Linked DNA regions of Homo sapiens: region 1 is linked to region 2. The links are contacts of gene promoters, found by promoter capture Hi-C in human tissues and cell types (Jung and others, 2019). All regions are on one chromosome and are shown on one strand. Each heading gives the region's core, a stretch centred on a gene start or on the middle of the fragment in contact. The rest is flanking DNA. Distances are from core to core; before and after follow the strand shown.

Region 1 (2,700 bases), core at 67-2,566, 1.4 Mb before region 2:
TTTCGCTTCTGGGTAGAATTGTCATTTTTTTTTTTCCTCAGAGACTGTTGTGTGGGCCTAGTGGTGCATCAGGTTCCGGTTAGAATCCAGTGCAGGCCGCAGGCTTCTCTTTAATTAGAGAGGGTCACTTCACCTCCGGTTAGAATCCAGTGCAGGCAGCAGCTTCTTTTTAATTAGAGAGGGGTCTGGGTGCTGAGCTTCCCATCAGGAAGAAGGGGCTGTCGTGCTGAAGTCCTGAGGTGGGTCACGTGTCCCTTCCTGTGTTAGAAAACCGTCTTTGGTGCTCCTGGGGCTCCCTTACAAGTGCTGTTCTGAACTGTTAGGTCATTCAGAGTCCATCTGCGTCCTGTCCCCAGGGATCTCCTCAAACCCTGTTTAGACTGCTCATAGCCTTTCCCTTTTTAGCACTACAGCGGGTTCTTTCTCTGTTAATTTTTTGAAGCTTTTTCTTTCTCTCATTTCGGTGGCACCTTGGGAGGGATGGGAGTTAGATAGGTGTTTGCAGTGGGCCATCTTGAGAAACTTCTCAAAACTGGAGTCTTGTAACTGCTTGCATTTTGAAGTTAATGGAATGGGCGCATTGCCTTTATAGCTGTAAATGTTACTGCTTCACTTACTGTTAGCCCAAGCCAGTGTGTTGCATCTGCCCAGATCCTTCTTTGTGGTATGTGCTCACTTTCTGGCGACAGCCAGGCTGTTCTTTGCAGGCATGTGCTCCTAGCAGTCGAAGACAGAAGTTTGGGGGCCTGTGTAGGCTGTATGGGCTGCTGTGTGTGTGTACGTGGTGAGTTGTGTCTGAGACCACCCCTCCTCCCCTGGGTGCTGCCTGATCTGCCTGCATGACCGCTGTGGGACACCACTGTCTCTGGTGTCCTTTCCTGGCTGGCAGTGTGGTGGTGTGGGCAAAGCCAGGCTGGTGGGCTCCGATCTTGGTTCTGCCTTTGTAAGCTTTGTCACACTGTCTTTTGGGAGCTCGTGTGTGTGTGTGTGTGTGTGTGTGTGTGTGTGTGTGTGTGTGTTTTCGTTTTCTGCCTGTAAGATAAACTGGCATGCAGTCTACACTGAGGTACGGGCTGTGTGGGCCAGCACAGCATGCCGTGGTCCTAAGCAGGGAGGTGTCCTTCCTTTCCCCTGCCTGTTGGGGCTGCGCTTCCCTGCCTCGTGTGGAGGTTGCGCCCGGTCTGCAGAAGGCAGAGAGCATCTTGTTGGGAAGAGCCCTGCCTGCCTTCCCGTTGCTGTGCTCCTGCCTCCCTGCTCTGCTCCTCTCACCCCTTCCTGGAAACTACCTAAAATACTTGGTTACTTCTTTTTTGAAGATGTATTCTCTGTCCTAGTGTTTGGGTGTTGATACAGTGGAATCCACAAAATTGAATAAGATTTGATTTTCATTTTAAAGTGAAATAAATCATTTGGGTGCATGTTGGGTGAAAGTGCCGTAATTGATAGCATCCGTCATCAGACTTTAATTTTACCCCTGGGGTGTAGGAGTGGGTGGGATTAAGTACAAAATCTGCAGAAGCCAGGAAGTGAAAACGTACTGCTGGATTTCTGTTTTTCACATGTCCCCAACAATATGGACCATTTGCATTAAACTTAAATAGCACCACTTATTTAAGATTCATTTTTTACTCTTGTTCTGAAATCACAAGTTCCATTTGACAGTGATAGGACAAAATTATATTTTTAAACTTTGCAAACCACACTCCAGAGCTGTGCTAAAAATAACAATTTCTTGTGTCAAGAATAACTTTCTCAAGTTCCTGGAGGAGGCGAGCTGACTGGTGGCAACGCAGACCACTAAAGCTTCAGTGAGCCCAGAAAGTGTGCGCTCAGTCCCACATTGCAGAGGCCTCTCCGTCAGTATTGAGATGGTGGAAAGTGAGGAGAAGCAAAAAGACGACTACTTCTTTCCCCATTTCCCGGTCTGGTCTTTTTGGGGTCTACTACGTAGAGGTGCATCAGCCAGCGCTACCATGGAGGCAGGAGGCATTCTTTTGCTCTCGTGTCAGTACTGACGGGGTTGATTAAGGTTGCTGTGCTTGTTGGTGTGGGTATTGGGAGGGTGGTGTGAAAGCAGTTGGGCTGGAATAGAGCTGGTCAGTGTGTCCTTTTGCGTGCATTTGTGTGGCCCTAGTGCTACAGTGGTGTCCCTTAGCTCTGGGGGACTGTCTGAATTTTTGTGCTCTAAATTATTAATACATGTTTATGTGTGGGTTTGCCAGAATGCTGTGTCCGTTATTGTTGGCTCCTTGGACAGCTCTCCTTGTTCTGCTTCACTGGCTGTGAAATTGGTTCACGTGGTGGGCTCTGGGTCCAGCGAGATGCATCTGAGGTGTTGACCTGGTGGTGTGGGCCTGGGGCTGCCAGTGGTCCTGTTGCCTGATGAGGGAGACCGTTCCTGAAACTGTGGCGCACACTCAGGAGAGTAGGAAAGAGAGCGGAGAAAGCCTTCCGGTTCTGAGCTTGTGGCTCTTGCCATTCCTGACTTGTTTGTTGTGCGAACCAATAATTTCCTTTTTTTGTTTAAGCCAATTTGAGTTGGGTTTACTTGCTTGTAGTGGAAAGGTTCTGACACAGGATCTTTATTATATGAAGTATTTTCATAATGTACATTGTGTTATATATTAGACATATCACACGATCTATTTTGTGATGTAGTTTGCTTTGCTGTTTTTATTCTGTGGAAGATATTCCTGAATT
Region 2 (2,712 bases), core at 114-2,613:
TCCCGGGGGGAACTTTGAGGACGGGGTTGTCCTCAAAGATTTCTTAGATAAATAAAGTGATAGAATCAAACTTTACAAGATGCAGCAAGAACTGTGTGAAGTCACTCATTTAATAGCGACACAAAATTATTCATGATTGCCCCAAGATTATCATAGAACATCCAATGAATTATGTACAGTAATTGTCATGAAGCATGAAAGGTCAAAATGCATTCTCAGTACTTTAAATGTAACTTTGAAGTCTTCCTTCAAAAATTGAGTAACTTCTTTTCCACATTTTGGTGCTTAAGATGTAACTCAGTTGCTTCCATTACTCAGAAAATTCCCTCATGGTGCATCCTCACTCTCTGCCCCACCAACCTGGCCAAAACAAGGAGCAAGAAATGGCATCCTGTACCATTTCTTTCAAAGTACCTCGACTACAAAATGGTTTTACCTACCGTATAGGATTAGTTTTGCTTATTAGTAACAATATTCGCCATGTGAACTTTCCCAGAATAGTTTTATATCAAATCCAACCTTCAACCCTTTAAACAGTAGGAAAACACGGCAGTTACAGTCGTTAACACCCTCTTCCCATAATACTCAAGCCTGTTAAACTTTCCTAACGAAAAGGGACGATGATGTGACACTCCAGCACCCCGCATCCACCTCCGCGGCGCAGCCGCTCTCTCCACCCCACAGGATGAACCCAAAGGCGCGCAGAGGCGCCCTCCCACGGCGCGTGACACCAGAGAAGGGGGATAAATTGGCGAGCTGGCATTCCTCCCGTCCTCACTGACGGACCCGCGAGCGGAGTGAGCGGTGACTCAGCCCGCTCCGGCTCGGCTCCGCCCTCCCGCCTCCCGCCCCGGCGTTCTCGCCCCGGCCTTGGCCTCTCCACTCCCTCCGCCCCGGTCCTGGCCCCCAGCCCTCCGCTGTCCTCCCCGGCTCCCTGACCCTCGAACCCCAGCCCTCCGCTCCCTCGTCCGGGCCCCACGTCCTCGGCCCGTCCCCCAGCCCTCTGCCCGGCCCTGCATCCTCGTTCCTCCAGCCCCGGAACGTATTAGGGCTGCACGCGCAGGGAGCAGCCCCCGGGACGGGTCTGCGGGCTTCGCGTCGCCCGGCCACTCTACCTTCGCTCCTGCCCAGGATCCTGCAGCACAGGTTCTGCAGCAGAACGTTCGGCGACTTCTGGTCCGGGGTCGCCATCCTCGCCCGGAGCCGTGCACGGTGGTCCGGGCAGAGCCGCCACTGCCGCCGCACGCGCAGGGACCGCGGCCCGCGCCCTTCCTGCGCCCCGCAAGCTCCCTGCTCCTGACAGGCTAAGGCGCGGGCGCCGCCGGCCACCAGGGCGCCATTTTAACGGAACCCGCCGAAAGCGCGGGCGCTTCCCACAATGCCCCGCTTCTTCCCTGCGCCGCGGCCGCGCGTGCGGCTGCCTAAGCGTTCCCGGCCCTGTCTGGTGCATTCCCCCTGCTGCTGCCCGGTCGGCCGAGAAAGTTCCGGGCGACAGGTGGCCCGAGGCCCTCGAGCTGCGCGGACAGAGCGGCCCCGGAGTCGCGAGCGTGACGGGCTTGCTTGGAGGGCACTTGGTGGCCGGTAGCACCATAAAGGCCATAATTTGGTGTGTGGGTGTGGGGGTGTGTGTGTTAACGGCATTGGTTTGATTCACACTTCTGATGAAAGAAGCCTGTTTAAAAAAGAAAAGAAAAAAGAAGCCTGTTTAAAGGGTGCAGGGTGTTACGATTGTTAACGTGCAGTGGGCAGTTCACCTGCTACGCTATCCAACAGGCGCCCTGCTCAGGCCCGACCTCGCACTGCCGCGCGGGCCGGTCCCCCCCGGCCCGGGTAACTGGGACGTCCTGGGAAAATAAATTAATCACGTACGGAGTGAGAGAACAGGAAACCTGCCGAGAAAAAGATCGATAAGCAGACAATTACACCAAGCCAACTTCAGTGCAATCGTTAAAGCTTACACATGGGTGCACGCTTGGGAGCCGTGAGCTACCATGTTAAAAGGCCAACTTCCTAAGGAAAAATGATGGAAAGAGATCCCGAGATCCTATGAAATGGAAGAGGGAGGACAACCCAGCTATCCCAACATCCCAGCTGAGGCCAGCCACACACGTGACTGTCTGCAAAGCCCGTCGGGCCTGGGTCCAGCTCAGGTTGCAGAATTGTTGGCAAGTAAAACGTTTGTTGTCGTTCTGACTCAAAAACATGGAGACAAAGCAGACTTGTAGGGTATTACAGTCAACAACTAGACCCTACAGCTAAAGGACTGTCTCCTTGCATGATGCAACAACCATCACAGCTCTGCAAGAGCAACCAAACCACCAAGGATGCGATCACCCCTCACTGCCTTCGATACGCATTCTGTGGAAACGCTTCTAAACTTGCATCACACTCAACACGATCAGTTAGTAACTGGCTTCTCATGAAGTTATTCTCTCAGCCGCATACTACAATGTCCAGATGTCATCTAAATCCTGCCACCCTCTCCCCCACCTTCAGCTGAAACGCTGCATGACTGCATCATCTTACCTGACCAGCTCTCTCCTAGGACAGACATGCAAGAACCCCCCTCACTAACGCTGATGTTATTTGGTTTACAGATGGCTCTTACTTAAAGATGCAGCTGGAAGGTATTACACTGGTTATGCCATAGCGTCTTTGCCCAAAGAAATAGAAAGTGCTTGTCTTCCAGGAGCAATCATCTCAACAAGCAAA

What was found. Contacts are between HindIII fragments. The study calls those that stand out against the background at their distance.
Region 1: a contact is called between a fragment that was not itself captured here and the fragment with the promoter of TUBGCP3 in region 2, in 1 of the 25 tissues and cell types used here (dorsolateral prefrontal cortex).

The regions. Positions count from the first base shown.
Region 1 is chr13:111,184,987-111,187,686 of GRCh38, forward strand. All of the region lies in intron 2 of ARHGEF7 (Rho guanine nucleotide exchange factor 7), which reads left to right. Among named protein-coding and RNA genes, the nearest start is that of ARHGEF7-AS1, 38 kb to the left of the region's middle. RefSeq lists an enhancer at 1-243. The HindIII fragment of the contact is 3,787 bases long and covers 1-2,700 here.
Region 2 is chr13:112,586,790-112,589,501 of GRCh38, forward strand. TUBGCP3 (tubulin gamma complex component 3) reads right to left here and starts at 1,364. Exons shown (of 22, transcript NM_006322.6): 1 at 1,116-1,364. The coding sequence starts at 1,191. It overlaps LOC124903251 (a long non-coding RNA gene), which reads left to right and starts at 1,397. Exons shown (of 2, transcript XR_007063945.1): 1 at 1,397-2,627. RefSeq lists silencers at 835-954, 985-1,044, 1,075-1,294 and an enhancer at 1,360-2,179. The HindIII fragment of the contact is 4,898 bases long and covers 1-2,712 here.